Linked DNA regions of Homo sapiens: all the other regions are linked to region 3. Evidence: promoter capture Hi-C in 16 types of primary human blood cells and fetal thymus (Javierre and others, 2016). All regions are on one chromosome and are shown on one strand. Each heading gives the region's core, a stretch centred on a gene start or on the middle of the fragment in contact. The rest is flanking DNA. Distances are from core to core; before and after follow the strand shown.

What was found. Contacts are between HindIII fragments. The CHiCAGO score rates a contact against its expected background, and 5 or more counts as called.
Region 1: a fragment that was not itself captured here is called in contact with the fragment with the promoter of NCAPH in region 3 in 6 of 17 cell types (naive CD4 T cells, naive CD8 T cells, total CD8 T cells and 3 more); the score reaches 7.3 in naive CD4 T cells.
Region 2: a fragment that was not itself captured here is called in contact with the fragment with the promoter of NCAPH in region 3 in 4 of 17 cell types (naive CD8 T cells, naive B cells, naive CD4 T cells and 1 more); the score reaches 6.7 in naive CD8 T cells.

The regions. Positions count from the first base shown.
Region 1 is chr2:96,597,186-96,599,885 of GRCh38, forward strand. The region is part of intron 20 of KANSL3 (KAT8 regulatory NSL complex subunit 3); the gene reads right to left. Among named protein-coding and RNA genes, the nearest start is that of KANSL3, 40 kb to the right of the region's middle. The HindIII fragment of the contact is 1,892 bases long and covers 311-2,202 here.
Region 2 is chr2:96,707,413-96,710,112 of GRCh38, forward strand. LMAN2L (lectin, mannose binding 2 like) reads right to left here. Exons shown (of 8, transcript NM_030805.4): 7 at 302-421. Among named protein-coding and RNA genes, the nearest start is that of LMAN2L, 31 kb to the right of the region's middle. The HindIII fragment of the contact is 5,025 bases long and covers 1-2,700 here.
Region 3 is chr2:96,334,344-96,337,043 of GRCh38, forward strand. NCAPH (non-SMC condensin I complex subunit H) reads left to right here and starts at 1,423. Exons shown (of 18, transcript NM_015341.5): 1 at 1,423-1,505. The coding sequence starts at 1,487. RefSeq lists enhancers at 896-1,737, 1,738-2,579 and a silencer at 1,498-1,817. The HindIII fragment of the contact is 5,174 bases long and covers 1-2,205 here.

The sequences.
Region 1 (2,700 bases), core at 7-2,506, 260 kb after region 3:
AAAGGTTAACAATTCCGTAATATCAACAACTATCCAGTCAGTGTTAAAATTTCCAATTGCCTCATAAATGTCAAAAAAATGGGTAGTTTGTTTCTAAGCATTAAAAAACGTCGGTTTCCAAAGCCTGAGGAGATTCTGATCCTGCCACCACAACAGTCACTGAATTAAGTCAACTTCCTCTCTAAACCAGGTAAGAAAACCAAAGCCCAGAAGGATAGGTGATTTGCCCAGGATCACACAGCTGGCTGAAAACAGATGACCTGACCCATAGTCCAGTGCTCTGTCTGGCAATCTGAACAGAGCTATTAGAAGCTTCTGAATCAGCAAGAAGCCTTAATCTAATAACATCCCCTTGCTTGTTGGAAAAGAATCACCACCTGACTCCTCCTAGCAATTACATATCCACTTTATTTTATTTATTTATTTTATTTTTTTGAGACAGAGTCTGGCTCTGTTGCCCAGGCTGGAGTGCAATGGTACAATCTCAGCTCACTGCAACCTCCGCCTCCCAGGTTCAAGCAATACTCCTGCCTCAGCCTCCCAAGTAGCTGGGATTACAGGTGCACGCCACCACATCCAGCTAATTTTTGTATTTTTAGTAGAGATGGGGTTTCACCATTTTGGTCAAGATGGTTTCGATCTCTTGACCTCGTGATCCACCCGCCTAGGTCTCTCAAAGTGCTGGGATTACAGGCGTGAACCACCATGCCCAGCCTACGTCCATTCTATTAAGATGAAAACTAATCTCATGTTAACATCATCAGTTAGAAGGCCAGACCTTGATCTTTATTCTGTGCTTCAACTGAGCTCCAGAAAAGGGGGATTCTCAATGACCTCTACTCTCTTCTCAATGGTAACTGGCTGGCCCAGGCCATGGCAAGCTGAGACGGATTACCTAACACAGGAGGAAGGGATCACGTGGCAGGATCTGTGTTCTAGTTGTCCATCAACATGGCATCAGCAAACGAAGACACCCTAAAAACAGGCCCAAATGGCTTTGTAGGTCACTTCTATCAACCCATCAAGGAACTATCATTTCTGTACTATAAAACTGTTTTAGAGTATGAGAGGGGAAAAGCACTTCCCATCTCATTCTACAAGGATTGAATTACCCCTTTTACATAACTAGACAAAGGAAAGCACACACACAGAAGTAGGGGGTGGAGGGGAAGAAAACTATGGGCCAAAGCCTGAGGAGATTAATATAGACGCCAAAATCCTAAGTAAAATAAAAGCAAATAGAATAGACATGCTTTTCTTTTGAAATGCTTAGCTTCTTTCTTTTTTCATTTCGTTCTTTTGATAGGGTCTTGTTGCCTTTGTATGTATAATAAAAAGAATAGGACACACTGAAAAAGCCACTGCATCTAGAATTCACACAGTTTGATATTAGGAAACCTATTAAAGTAACTCATCATTTTAACTGATTAGAAGGAAACGTTGGCCGGACATGATGGCTCACGCCTGTAATCCCAACACTTTGGGAGGCCAAGGTGGGTGGATCACTTGAGGTCAGGAGTTCAAGACAAGCCTGGACAACATGGTGAAACCCTGTCTCTACTAAAAATAGAAAAATTAGCTGAGGGTGGTGGCATGAGCCTATAGTCCCAGCTACTCAGGAGGCTGAGGCAAGAGAATAGCTTGAACTTGGCAGGCAGAGGTTGCAGTGAGCTGAGATCGTGCCACTGCACTCCAGCCTGGGTGACAAGAGTGAGACTGTCTCAAAAAAAAAAAAAAAAAAAAAAAAAAAGGAAATGTTTATCCTCATTCATTTCATGTGATTCTAAAAGAATAATGGAAAAAATTCAAAACTATCATGAGAAAGGAAAAGAATGAAGATTATCTTAGCAAACTAGAAACAGAATTGACACTCCCTTAACTTCAAGATCCATACTATCAACCCATAACAGAAGGCCAGCGTAGGATAGACAAATTCAAAACTACAGAACAGGCCCATATGTGTTCAGTACTTTAGAATGTGACAGCAGTGGATTTTAGATGAGTGGAGGAATGATGAATGGACTCATCCTTACCTCACTTAACATACAAAAGTGAACTATAAGGAATTAAAGGAAACAAGCAAAAGCATTATAAGAAAACACAAAGAGAGAGTTTCAATATGGGATGACAGAAAAGTTCTGGAGATGGATGGTGGTGATGGCTGTACCACAATGTGAATGTGCTCAATGCTACTGAACTGTAAGCTTGAAACATGGCTAAAATGGTACATTGTATGTTATATATGTTTTACCACAATTCAAATTTTAAAAACAAAAAGGATTACTTTTATATTCTTGTGATAGGGCTAGCTTTCTTAAGGCATAAAACTTTGGAGCTATAAAGGAAAATATTTGAAGATTTTACTATATGAAACATTTAAATGGCTGTATGATCTAGAAATAAAAGTTAAAAGACTGACTGACATTCAATGAATGCTTCAATAGAAAGAAAAAAAAATATGAGCCACTGACAGGAATAACATATATGTAATTTGTGTAACAGATAAAGATTTAACATCTGAATATACAAAGCCACTATAATTCAAAGAGTATGACAAACATTTCATAAAAGACATAAAACTTCTTAAGTAATCAGGAAAATGCACATTAAAACAATTTCATTTTTCACCCAGATTAATAAAGTTAAAATTTTGATTTCCACAAAATATGAAACATATTTTCATCACCGTGGCTAGAATTG
Region 2 (2,700 bases), core at 129-2,628, 370 kb after region 3:
GAGAAGCAAGTCAGAAAACAGGGAGCCCACCCAATAGGGAAGGATCAAACTATAGGCTGTCCGGCCCCCAGTTTCTGACACCTACTTCTGGGAAGCCAGAGCTTAGACCCCCTCTTTCCAACTGAGAAACAAAGCGGCCCTCCTGCTGCTCATCTGTAACTTGAAGGGGAAAGGCAGATGAAAGTGCTCCCTACCCTTCAGAAGAAGAACACAGAGCAGAGACCGCCCTGTGAGCTATGGGTACAGCACTGCAAGCTCCTCCCCAACTATGGGACCATTTCCCGCGGGCCCCTGTGCTCACTCTCAGGCAGCTTCATATTGTCCACTGAGGGCAAGAACACATCTCGATGGAGCTTTTCCTCTTCTGGGGTTCTCTCCACTGTCAGTTCAAACAACTTCAAGGAAATGACATCATGATTATCTGAAGAAAAATGGAAGAAGGATGACTTGTGCCACTTGAAAAAGAGGTATGTTTCTTGAAGTCAGTATCTTAGTTCAAGCCTCTGATCCACAGCTAACCAGCAGTGACCTTGAAAAAATAATTGAAACCTCTCCATTTTGCAACTAAAAATAAGGATGGGGAACAAGGCATATTCTATATCTTCTGTATTTAAGTTTTTATCAACAAGCATGCATTACCTGTATAGAAGATCGCTGACTTAAAATGGTTCGACTTACAATTTTCCAACTTTATGATGGTGTGAAAGTAATCTGCGCTTAGCAGAAACCATACTTCAAAATTTGAGTTTTGATCTTTTCCCAGGCTAGCGATGTGTAGTACAACACTCTGTACTGAGGCTGGGCAGCAGCAGTGAGCTGTAGCTCCCAGTGAGCCACACAATCACAAGGGTAAACAACCAGTACTGCATCGTGTACTGTATTCCATACGTTACATCAGACATTCAACACTTTGTTACAGAATAGGCTTTGTGTTAGATGATTTTGCCCAACTGTAGGCTAATGTAAATGTTCTAAGCACATTTAAGGTAGACTAGGCTAAGCTATGATGTTCAGTAGGGTAGGTGTATTGAATGCATTTTCAACTTACAATATCTACAACCTACAATGAGTTTATTGGGACATAACGCCATTGTATGTCAAGACGCATCTGTATAATTAAAAAATTTGGAGATAAAACCACAATTAAATCCCATATGTTAAACCTTCCAGCACAGTAAGAACAGACAAAGTAGGACTGCAGCTTCCCCGCTGGTGAAGACCACACACGTGCACACACACACACGTACAACAGGAAAAGGTCTCATGGCCGCTGTTTAATGGGCCATGGGCAGGGCACAGCTATGGGCATGGGATACACTGCCCTTCTAGACTATGCCTGTTTCTCTGTGGCTTCTTGTACTTGTGACTCTTAATCTCCCTAATAATTACCAGAGAGAAGATCAAGCAATTAGGGACTAGATTTCTCTCTTTAAAGTATCATTATAAACTCCTACATTTAACCATATCTGATGTGTTGCAATGCACTGAAGTTAGACTTTTTTTTTTTTTTTTTTTTTTTGAGACAGAGTTTTGCTCTTGTTGCCCAGGCTGGAGTGCAATGGCACGATCTCGGCTCACTGCAACCTCTGCCTCCCAGGTTCAAGCAATTCCCCTGCCTCAGCCTCCCAAGTAGCTGGGATTACAGGCATGCACCACCACGCCCGGCTAATTTTTTGTATTTTTTTTTTAGTAGAGATGGGGTTTCTCCATGTTGGTCAGGCTGGTCTCGAACTCCCAACCTCAGGTGATCCACCTGCCGTGGCCTCCCAAAGTGCTGGCATTACAGGCGTGAGCCACCGCGCCTGGCCTGAAGTTAGATTCTTATTGATGCTCAACTCACCTGTCTTTGTCAAGTAGGAGCCTATTCAGTTTGGCTCCTGCGTCTCTTTACATAAACCCAGAAGTTTTTTATAACTTCCTTGCTTTTCTGGGAAGTTCCAACTTATAGATTTCCTACCTCAAACCCTGCATCAGCCATTTCTCAAGGAAGCTGCAGTTCCTTTTAGGGGGAATTGGTATTTAGAGACCACAAATCTGAGTGCTAGGGGTGCTCATTGCTACTAGGTTGGTTACTGACTGGGGCCTGGATTTCTGGTCATTTATAAGGAGAGCATCCACAGCTGCTTGGACTGCTAGAATCTTTAGCAGATTCCCAGGTAGTGAAAAACTGGATTCATCTTCTGTTGGAAAAATGTTAACTGTCAGAGCTCAGTTTAAACCATGGGACAGGATAAAAGGCCAGGGCAATGCTCCTCATGCAATGCAGGGCATTAAAGCCTGGAACGGCTGGGAAACATCCTAACTTTCTCAGCAGTTTTCAACAACCTACTATACAACAAGTAAGAGGATGGCAACAAGAAAGACCTCAAAAGAAAGAAACAACTTGCATTTAGGGATACCCTATGGGCAGAGAACACAGACTTACTAACTTGGGTATTCTCACTAAAGACCTAGGGCAAAAAACTTAGACTAAACAAAAAATTATTCTCCCCTGCCATTTCTGACAGTTGGGGACTTTCCATTAAAAAGTACGTCAGGAGGTTAACCCAGAAACCTGTAAGCTCAAAGGAAAATGTGTAGTCATATAATGAGATTATATAGCAAAGATCTCCAGCCTATGCCTCCTATCCCCCTGCCGAGACTAAATTTTTCCCACAGGTCTGGCCTGCTCGGTACTTAGAACCTAATTGCCAAAACTAA
Region 3 (2,700 bases), core at 173-2,672:
CCTGAGGTCAGGAGTTCGAGACCAGCCTGACCAACATGGTGAAACCCCATCTCTACTAAAAATACAAAAATTAGCTGGGTGTGGTGGTGGGCGCCTGTAATCCCAGCTATTCAGGAGGCTGAGGCAGGAGAATCGCTTGAACTTGGGAGGTGGAGGTTGCAGTGAGCTGAGATCGTGCCATTGCACTCCAGCCTGGGCAACAAAGCAAGACTCTGTCTCAAAAAAAAAAAAAAAAAAAGTGGTTTTCAACAAAGGGTGGCACTTTTTGATTGCCAAAATGAGCGACAGCACTGATGGCATTTAGTGGGCAAATGATGTTACGGGGGCTTAAGAGCCCACAAAGAGGGCAAACATCCTATCATGCCAAGGATTGTTTCACCCTGAATGCCAACAGTGCCCTTGAAGAGAAACACTGTAAAAGATGCCAGATATGAGAGTTACAAGAAATTCTAGGATGTGCTGGGGATATTCCAGGGAATCACCCTGGCCTTTACTCCCATAATTCAATCCTTAGGGTTAGATGAAACTGAGGGGACAGATGGCATTTTATGCTTATTTCGCTTTTTCGACCTTTATTTATTTTTTGAAGGGTGGGGGGTGTTCACAGGAAGCTATTCACAAGAATCTGAATAAAACGATGGCCTTCATCTTACACTATATTAAATGTACATTTTGTACTATATTTAATGTATACATAGCATTTCTGCATCAGTTCTTCCCCACCTGGACCGCTCCTCATTCCCACGTAGGCTCCCGCTCCCCTCCGTCCCTCTTCCCGGAGGTTTTCAGCGTTTTGCTGCCCACACAGCACAGATCTCTAAGGGAAATAAACCTCGTTTTCTCGATCATCTGCCTCCCCATTATAAAGTAAATTCCACGGGCTGAGCGCGGTGGCTCACGCCTGTAATCCCAGCACTTCGGGAGGCCGAGGTGGGCGGATCACCTGAGGTCAGGAGTTCGAGACCAGCCTGGCCAACATGGTGAAACCCCGTCTCTACTAAAAACACAAAAATTGGCCAGGCGTGGTGGCAGGCGCCTGTAATCCCAGCTACTCGGGAGGCTGAGGCAGGAGAATCGCTTTAACCCAGGAGGCGGAGGTTGCAGTGAGCCAAGATCGCGCCACTGCACTCCAGTCTGGGGGACAAGAGCTAGACTTCGTCCCAAAAAAAAAAAAAAAAGAAAGTAAATTCCACGAAAGACGGGCCTTGCTCACCCTGCTCGACGCTGGGTTCCCAAGCCCAGTCCTGCACCTAGTCCTCGAAGGAGGGGGTTTTCATACTATTTCAGGGGGTCCACCGACCCCAAGAAGCCCAATCAGACGGGGTCCTCAACCCAAAACTCACTCTGACGCCGCCCGCGGAGGCCCGAGGTGGTCTGCGCAGGCGCGCTGCTGGCCCGGCCCGCCGGCGACGTCACGCGGCCGTTACGGCGCTCAGGCGTCTCGACGCGCGCGATTTAAAACCAGCTCAGGAGACGCCAAGGAAAGATGGGACCTCCCGGCCCAGGTGAGCCGGGCGGTCGGGAGGCGCGGCGGGAAGGGCCCCTAGCGAAGCAGTACTTCGGGCGGGCAGGGCTGGCGGGCTGGCCTGGGCGGGGAGAGAGGATATGCTCAGCTCGGGTCTTGGCCCTGCGGCTGACAGCAGAGGCCGGTGCGGGGGGAGGGGAGGGCCGGCGCGGGGCGGGCGGACCTTGTGCGCTCAGCCAATCAGAAAGCGGCTTCGGCCGGAGTCGGAGAGCGCGCGGGCCCTGCCTCACACTCCTCAGTTCCCGGGCGGGCGGTGGGGCGGCCTCCTCCTTGGGCTCCTAAAGCGTGCTCGGTGTCTCTCCATTAAAATGGTGGTTTTCCTGGAATAGACGTTATTTTCAGGGCTTTGGAAGCGATGTGGTTACCGTTGTATGCTTAGCATGCATGCATTTATTTTTGCATCTATTCAAAAGTACTGAGCTCTCCCGTTGGGCGAACAAAATTGATAATATCTCTATACTGTTGGAGTTGGGGAGACAGACAGTAAACAAAAGAAATAATTACACATGAGGCTGAGTGCTGTGATTGAGTATAGCAGAGTAGGGGTGGCTCCGCCAGGGGTTCAGGGAAGATCTTTAGGCAGATACTAGGGAACGTGTTTCAGGCAGAAGGAGCAAGTACAAAAATGAGGCAGGGAAGAGCCTGGCCTGGCCTAGGACCTGACCAGAACATTGTGACCAAGCTTAGTGAGGCCTGACACGTAGGCAGGGTCTGGAGGCCTTGGGTAAGAGATTTGGAAATTGAGTTACATTTTGGACATGGTATGTGTGACTTACGGGAGAGACTCAGGTGAAGGGATCTATAATCACTTAGGTGAGAATTTGGCTCTCAGGGGAGTTATATGGACCACTCAGGGAAGTGACCCATGGATTGAGAAATAAATTTGGATACCATTATCATATAGACCATTAGACCATAAAACCATGGGAACAGGTGAGAACACTAGGAAGGCCCTGCACATCTAGGACCAACGTTTAGAAGCTGGATAGAGAAGGATGAGCTGGAAAAACTCAAAAGACAGTGGTATAGGAAGAAGCCAAGAGTGTTTCAACAAGGAAGGGACTGTCAGCTGTTTCAAATGCTGCTGGATTCCAAGAGAAAGGCCAGAAAATGACCATAGGGTTTAGGCAACATGGAAGTTATAGATGATCACGAAAAGATAGTTCTCATGAAGT